Linked DNA regions of Homo sapiens: regions 2 and 3 are each linked to region 1. Evidence: promoter capture Hi-C in 16 types of primary human blood cells and fetal thymus (Javierre and others, 2016). All regions are on one chromosome and are shown on one strand. The core of a region is centred on a gene start or on the middle of the fragment in contact, and the rest is flanking DNA. Distances in the headings are between cores, read along the strand shown.

Evidence for each region. The method cuts DNA at HindIII sites, captures the fragments that hold promoters and counts their contacts. A CHiCAGO score of 5 or more calls a contact.
Region 2: a fragment that was not itself captured here is called in contact with the fragment with the promoter of SUMF1 in region 1 in 1 of 17 cell types (neutrophils); the score reaches 6.6 in neutrophils.
Region 3: a contact is called between a fragment that was not itself captured here and the fragment with the promoter of SUMF1 in region 1, in 1 of 17 cell types (total CD8 T cells). The highest score is 5.1, in total CD8 T cells.

Annotation. Positions count from the first base shown.
Region 1 is chr3:4,466,010-4,468,779 of GRCh38, reverse strand. It overlaps SUMF1 (sulfatase modifying factor 1), which reads left to right and starts at 1,511. Exons shown (of 9, transcript NM_182760.4): 1 at 1,511-1,804. The coding sequence starts at 1,535. LOC124909340 (a long non-coding RNA gene) reads right to left here and starts at 1,956. Exons shown (of 2, transcript XR_007095789.1): 1 at 1,272-1,956; 2 at 1-116. RefSeq lists an enhancer at 1,285-1,464 and a silencer at 1,635-1,814. The HindIII fragment of the contact is 8,038 bases long and covers 1-2,770 here.
Region 2 is chr3:4,992,244-4,994,949 of GRCh38, reverse strand. No RefSeq gene overlaps it. Among named protein-coding and RNA genes, the nearest start is that of BHLHE40-AS1, 14 kb to the right of the region's middle. RefSeq lists an enhancer at 1-379. The HindIII fragment of the contact is 2,172 bases long and covers 347-2,518 here.
Region 3 is chr3:5,182,424-5,185,123 of GRCh38, reverse strand. No RefSeq gene overlaps it. Among named protein-coding and RNA genes, the nearest start is that of EDEM1, 3.9 kb to the left of the region's middle. The HindIII fragment of the contact is 4,107 bases long and covers 1-2,700 here.

The sequences.
Region 1 (2,770 bases), core at 262-2,761:
TGTGTTGCCCAGGCTGGTCTCAAGCTCCTGGCCTCTAGCGATTCTCCTGCCTCGGCCTCCTAAAGTGCTGGGATTACAGGCTTGAGACACGGTGCCTGGCTGGTCTTTTCTTTATGCTAAAAAAATTCAAACAGATGCTACATTAGAATAGTGCAATAAACACCCAGATGCCCATCAACCAGCTATGACAGTTATCAACTCATGGCCAATCATGCTTCATCTTTAGCCAGACCCTGATTACCCATTTTTTGGGAAGCAAATCTTTGACTGCCTATATTTTTATCCATATATATATATGTGTGTGTGTGTGTGTGTGTGTGTGTATACCTCAGTGAGTGTGTGTGTACCTCAGTGAGGGGATTCTTTTAAAAAATATAGCCACAAATACCATTATTACTCCTAAAAGCCTAAAAACAAAATTTACAGCAATTCCTTAATTTTATCAAATATTATAATTTGACTTAGTGGTTAAATTTCCCTGATTATCTCAAAAATTTTGAACTCAGTAGGTTTGAATTAGTATTTAGATAAGGTTCACATATTGCAGCTGGCTGCTATGTTTTTTTTTTTTTTTTTTTTTTCAGATGGAGTCTTGCTCTGTCCCCAGGCTGGAGTGCGGTGGCGCCATCTCGGCTCACTGCAAGCTCCACCTCCCGGATTCATGCCATTCTCCTGCCTCAGCCTCCCGAGTAGCTGGGACTACAGGCGCGTGCCACCACGCCGGGCTAATTTTTTGTATTTTTTAGTAGAGATGGGGTTTCACCGTGTTAGCCAGGATGGTCTCGATCTCCTGACCTCGTGATCCACCCGCCTCGGCCTCCCAAAGTGCTGGGATTACAGGCTTGAGCCACCGCGCCCGGCCTGCTATGTTGTTTTTTAATCTGTAAGTTTCTCCTTCATCTTCTTTTTGTTTTGGTTTTGCATTTTGTTCGATTACGGAACTGTAGAACAGTGGTTCTTAAACTTAAGTGTGGATTAGAATCATCTGGAGAGCTTGTGAAACCCTGGATTGCTGTGTCCAGTCCCCACGGATTCTGATTCCGTATTGTATTTCTCTTTTTTTTTTGAGACGGAGTCTTGCTCTGTCGCCGAGGCTGGAGTGCAGTGGCGGGATCTGGGCTCACTGAAACCTCCGCCTCCCAGGTTCAAACGATTCTCCTGCCTTGGCCTCCCGACTAGCTGGGACTACAAGCGCGCCATTACTGGGTCTTTGTGAGGATTAAATGAGATTTTAAAAAGTGAAGTGCTTAGCATAGTACTCTGGCACTTACCAAATGCCCAGCAAATTTGACTGTTATTTTTCAACCAAGAAATCATAAAGGGGTGCACGGTCTGTGGAAGGCCTTGAGTTTTGTGGAGTTTTGTGTTTTGCTGCGTTTTGACGTTAGCACAGGCAAGCAGCAGCGCCAAAGAAGTACCTGAAGAAAGGTGAAGAGCAACTCTCCTGGTCACTTCGTAAGTCAGCTCAAAATTCTGCCCCTTTAAGGAGGGCTCAGCCACGTGACCAACCGGGTCACATGGCCCGCGGGACAACATGGCTGCGCCCGCACTAGGGCTGGTGTGTGGACGTTGCCCTGAGCTGGGTCTCGTCCTCTTGCTGCTGCTGCTCTCGCTGCTGTGTGGAGCGGCAGGGAGCCAGGAGGCCGGGACCGGTGCGGGCGCGGGGTCCCTTGCGGGTTCTTGCGGCTGCGGCACGCCCCAGCGGCCTGGCGCCCATGGCAGTTCGGCAGCCGCTCACCGATACTCGCGGGAGGCTAACGCTCCGGGCCCCGTACCCGGAGAGCGGCAACTCGCGCACTCAAAGGTGCTCCATCGATTCCTCCGAGGCGGGTGGGGGCTGCTCGGTTCCTGGACGGGGTTGGAGTAGGCAAAGCAAGGCACTAGTAGGAAGGGAAGTAAAGGTTATAACCACACCCCAAATCGAGCACCTGCTGTTCCCGTATGAGGAGTTCCTTCTCCGTGCCTCACCGGAAGACTCCATTTAATTGACCATTAGGGAGTTTGGTTTGAGGGTTATTGTTACTTCTTTACCCCCTATTTCTTTCTCCCTCCAACCTGTTCTCTTAATGAGGATCTCATAATTTTAAGGCAATCAAATTATGGTTTAAATCACCATTTCCTCTCTTATTAACGGAATAAATTAGGATCCTGGGTCTCAGTATCTTCACCAGGGTTGTTGTATACTTATCTGTAGTCTCCTCGAGTACACTCTGCTTGAGGACAAGGGCTTGAATTGTTTATCCTGCTATTCTTAGCACTTTAGCACTTAGGAAGGGCTAAGCAAACTGTAGTTGTTTTATTGCTATTATTTATCTGTCTTGCTTAGCGCCTGTATGTGTTAGGTGCCGGGATATATAAATAACTTACTGGCCGGGCGCGGTGGCTCACATGCCTGTAATCCCAGCACTTTGGGAGGCCGAAGCGCGCGGATCACGAGGTCAGGAGTTCGAGACCAGCCTGGCCAACATGGCGAAACCCCGTCTCTACTAAAAATACAAAAATTAGCCGGGCGTGGTGGCGGGCGCCTGTAATCCCAGCTACTCGGGAGGCTGAGGCAGGAGAATTGCTGGAACCCGGGAGGCGGAGGTTGCAGTGAGCCGAGATCTTGCCACTGCACTCCAGCCTGGGCGACAGGGCGAGACTCCGTCTCGAAAAAAAAAAAGAAAGAAAGAAATAACTGTTACTTCAATCTGTCTGCCCGGTATTTTGCATATTGATGTGTTGTCGAAACAACTTATGGGTCTAAAGGTCAGGTCTTCTGACTCCTAAA
Region 2 (2,706 bases), core at 183-2,682, 530 kb before region 1:
CTCAGACTCTGGAGAGCTAGCGTCACCTTGCTGGATAAGGTCTAGAGAGGCTCTAAGCCCCAGGGCAATTAAGCCCTAAGGTCCTGAGACATGAGCATTTTGATCCTTCCTCCCCATACGAAGTGCAAACTGAAAACACAAAGCTTAAAATAAATTTAGAGAAACCCCAATAAGCCCTTGATTTTAATCATAAGATGATCTCCATGTTTTTCTTTGAAATATCAAAAAGAAATTATTTTCCAATTTTGGGGAGATGGAAGGAAGCTGGGGCTGCTTTCCCAGTGTTTTCAGCACACACTAGGTCTACCTAATGGGTAATTCAGCAGTGTGCACAGAGTGGGAAGCTTATCTCTGACCCTCTTCCCTCCTCATGCCTCTGTCCATTTTGACATCCTGGGCTCTTTCAGCAAGGACTTTTGAGTCATATGTTGAGTTAAATCCTGTCTGTGCCATCTGCTTGCTGTGTGACCTTGGGTGAGTCACTTAATCTCACTGAGTCTCAATTTCTGTAAATGTAAAAATGGAGATTGCACCAGATAATGTATGCATAGTGCCTAGTACAGTACTTAGCACACAGTCTGATATATATATATATATCAGAGAGATCTCATACACACAGACATATATATATGTGTGTGTGTATATATATGTGTGTGTGTGTGTGTGTGTGTATGAGATCTCTTTCAGCTTTTCCCTCTACAAAGCATCTTTCAGGAAATAATGTTATGTCAGTTACTTACACTTTAGAGTGAATATGTTCCTATAAATGTCATTCTTTCTTTTCATTTATTTTTTTATTTTCTTTTATTTTTAAATTAAATTAAAGTTTTATTTTGAGATGGGGCCTCACTCTGTCACCTTGGCTGGAGTACAGTGGCGTGGTCATGGCTCACTGCAGGCTAAGATCCTCCCACCTTAGCCTCCTGAGTAGCTGGGACTACAGGTCCGTATCACCATGACTGGCTAATGTTTTAATTTTTATTTGTAGAGACAGAGTTTTTGCTATGTTGCCCAGGCTCCTTTCATTCATTTAATCAGCAAATGCTTGAGCACCTACCACATACCTGACTGTAGCTAGATGCTGTATATTCTACATAAGGATTTCTTTTCATCCTCACGGCAATCTCTACAAGATCACTAATATCCCCATTTGATGGATAAGGAAACAGATTCAGGAAGGTGAAAGAACTTTCCCAAGGTCACACAGCAGAGTCTAGATTCACTTGTTCATTCAGGAAACACTGACTGAATTTCAGCTTTGTTTCAAGCTAGGCACTGGGAGCGCTGCAGTGAATGAGTTAGAGCCCCCATCCCAGGACCCTCACAGCCTATTGAGTGTCTTTGCACCTGTTTTGAAACTTTTGTCATCTCTCTAATTGTTAAGGTCCTTGTTAAAAGCTCCTATGTGCATGTGGGTAGGGAGAGCTTTCTCTAGATCTTCCACTCACCCTTTGAAGGGAGTTGCCTTCTTCCCAGGGTGTAGGGCTGGCCCTGCCCAGGGCTGAGCTGGCAAAACCAAAAAAGCATCCTGCCTCTCCTTTCCACATCATCCCCTGGGACTGCTGGATACAGATGTCCATGACAACCTTGAACTCCATTCTTGTCCCCCACTCCACTTATTCTGTTGCACTTCATGATCTATATTACAGAAATACCATGTTCATTGTAAAATAAAAAAAAAAGAAAATATAGAAAAGCAAAAATTCTTAAAGGAACAATAACCAATAATTCTAAATCCTGCTAAGGTGGTTAAAATTTTATTGTATTGCCTGCCAGACCTTTTTCCTCTGTAACTATAATACAATTACTAAAAAATAATAACAATAACACTAATTTTAGCTAACCCTGACATGGAGCTTTCTCTGTGCTAGACACTGTTCTAAGCATCTTAGACATTGAAACTCATTTAATCCTCACAACTCAGTAGGCCAATTACTATTGTCCTCATTTTACAGTTGTTCAAAGTGAGGCAGAGAGAACATTTAGAAGCACACATATTATTCTTTTTCAAAAATGGGATAAGTCTGAACATACTATTTTGTGGCCTACTTTTCCTCCCTTTACAACAAATAAACAATAATCAATTTACTTTCCTAACATAATTTTTCATGACTATTTAGCATTCCAGCACTTGCACATACTGTAAGTTACTCAACCAGTCTCCTTCTCAGCCATCTTTCTGATTTCCTTATTCTCTCCTTCCCTCTGTCCCTCCCTTCTTTCCTCCTTGTTTGTTTTACCTATGAATGGCACAGGACGTCCAATCTTGTAGCTTAGTCTTTGAAAACCTGTTTAATAACTTCTTGGCTGTGCATGGTGGCTCGGGCCTATAATCCCAGCACTTTGGGAGGCCAAGACAAGAGGATTGCTTGAGGTCAGGAGCTGGAGACCAGCCTGGTCAACATAGCAAAACCCTGTCTCTATTTTTTATTTAAAAATTAATTAATTTTAAAAATCGTATTTAGGATAACTCCTAGAAGTGGAATCATTTGGTCTCAAGATATACATATTCTAAGCTTTCCGACATCTCTTGCAAATGCCTCCAAGACAGGCAACAACGTTGGGTTCTAAAGGAGTATGACCTGTGTCCCACGGAATGATACCCATCAGAATGACAGATGCTCATGACATTGACCCAGCAATTCCATGTGGGAGTTTACCCCATAAATACTGTTATACGCTTGCAAAATGACCTGTGTATAAAAT
Region 3 (2,700 bases), core at 110-2,609, 720 kb before region 1:
GTGAGACCTATTAATACTTTTCAACTCTGAAACTTTTAAAACTAGCACCCGGCTGGGCGTGGTGGCTCACACCTGTAATCCCAGAACTTTGGGAGGCCAAGGCAGGCAGATCACTTAAGGTCCGGAGTTCAAGACCAACCTGGCCAAAATGATGAAACCCCATCTCTACTAAAAATACAACTACCCGGGCGTGGTGGTGGGCGTCTGTAATCCCAGATACTCAGGAGGCTGAGGCACGAGAATCACTTGAATCCAGGAGGCAGAGGTTGCAGTGAGCTGAGATAGCGCCACCACACTCCATTCTGGGCAAGAGAGTGAGACTGCGTCTCAAAAAAAAAAAAGTATTTCAAAAGCAGAGGTTTTGCAAAGCTGAAGGCCTAAAAAAAAGTATATAATTACAGTTCAAACTTATTTGATGGGCACAAATCCAAGTTTGTCAACATGCTCTGTTAGCAAGATACAGGATACTCGAGAGGCTGAGGCAGGAAGATCCCCTGAGCCAGTAGTTTGAAGCTGCGTTTCCTATGATCGTGGCTGTAAATAGCCAATGCAATTACCTGGGTAACAGTGAGACTTCATCTCTTTTTTAAAAAGGCATAGGGGACTGGGACTGGTAAAAACAAAAACTAGTACTTCCCGTGTGAAGGGTCATTTGGCAATTCCTAGTGTCAGAAAAAAATTACAACAAATTTACTTACAGATCTAACTGGCGTTTATTCATAACTTATGAATGGGGCAGCCTCCATTCTACAAAACAGAATGAAAGCTCCCAATGAGAAACAGCAGAATAGTGGGTTTTGTAAGATGAGAGCAAGGAAACAAAACAATGAAAAATAACTGATTGGTTAACATCGGGTTACTTTTTTTTTAAGGGTTAAAGAAGAAGGGACTTCCTTATTATTCTGATTCAGACAGACTGGGATTTTCTGTTTTCAGGAAAAACTGGTCTGTAAAGTTTCCATGTAACTGTGTGGCACTTAATATATGTAACTACTTTGGTCTGCTAGGACCTAGTGCAGAAACTCAGTCCACAAACAATGACCCCCCATAATTTTGGTTTAACGTTAGCACAAGTCGCCAGGCGCGGTGGCTCACGCCGGTAATCCCAGCACTTTGGGAGGCTGAGGCGGGTGGATCACTTGAGGTCAGAGTTCAAGACTAGCCTGGCCAACATGGTGAAACCCCATCTGCACTAAAACTACAAAAATCAGCTTGGCATAGTGGCACATGCCCGTAGTCCCAGCTACTTGGGAGGCTGAGGTAGGAGAATTGCTTGAACCCAGGAGGCGGACGTTGCAGTGAGTCGAGATTGCGCCACTGAACTCCAGCCTGATGACAGAGCAAGACTATCTCAAAAAGGAAGAAAAGATAGTGAGATTCCCTTCTAGCAGTTCTAACACCAAACCACTGAAACAAATATATGAACTATACATCAAAAATATTCATCATGCACATGCCCATACCATGCTCTAGCCTTTAGGTTACTGATGCTTCCAGAGAATATAGGAATTCTATAAATCCTTAACCCTTCTTTGAATGAGGGCTAGCGCTTATAAATTAGCTAATAGTATGACAAATAAGAGCAATTTGAATTTTTCTTACAGAATAAAATATACAAATGGAAGAGTTATCTAATTCACCTATTGGGTAGTAGATAGAAATGGTGAATTCTCTTAAGCCACAGAAACAAGCTAGCACATTGTGTGATACACATTGTACAACACTGAGGGTAAGTCACAATTGTAGATAAGAATTGGTTAAGGGAGATGCTATAATTAGCAAGTGGTTAATGTTCTACTTCCCAAGTCCAAAAGGGGATACAATGGTTTTGTTGGTCCTCCAGCCCCTTTACTTTTAAGAGTAGTATTTTCTAACCATTCCAGGTTTCTCCAAAGCTCTGGATAAATTCTAGCAGAACCTAGCTGGCCGGGCATGGTGGCTCATACCTGTAATCCCAGCACTCTGGGAAGCTGAGGTGGGCGGATCACAAGGTCAGGAGATCGAGACCATGGTGAAACCCCGTCCCTACTAAAAATATTAAAAAATTAGCCAGGCGTGGCGGCGGGCGCCTACAGTCCCAGCTACTCGGGAGGCTGAGGCAGGAGAATGGCGGGAACCCGAGAGGCGGAGCTTGCAGTGAGCTGAGATGGCGCCACTGCACTCCAGCCTGGGCAACAGAGTGAGACTCCATCTCAAAACAAACAAACAAAAAAACCCCCAAAAACCCAGCAACACAGCAGTTATAAAGGATTAAACCTTAGCTCTAAACCACCTACCCTCAAATTGGTAGTAGGTATATACACTTTTCTGGAGTGCATACCAAACATTTTCTGCAGTCTGGGGAAAATGTTCTAAAATTTGTAAATGCCTTTCAAAATATAAGCCGGTATATTTACAGAATTTCCTTCAAACAAAATAAATTTACTGTATCATTCTGTAAAATGTCTGCAATCTCCAGCTTTTGTGCTAAAATTTAAAGTTGTAACATGTAAATATTTCTGTATTTTTGAATTACCTTCTATTGAAGGAACATGTAATATTAACATATTCACTAGGCCAAATCGGTGTTTTTGTATCTCTTTTTAACCACCAAGCAAATTTCTAGGCTGCTAGAATCAGCCTGTCAGTGGCAGAAGTTATGGTTAGAAATCCTCTCCTGTTCATTTTATAGATGGGAAAACTTAAGGAGCCATGAGGGGG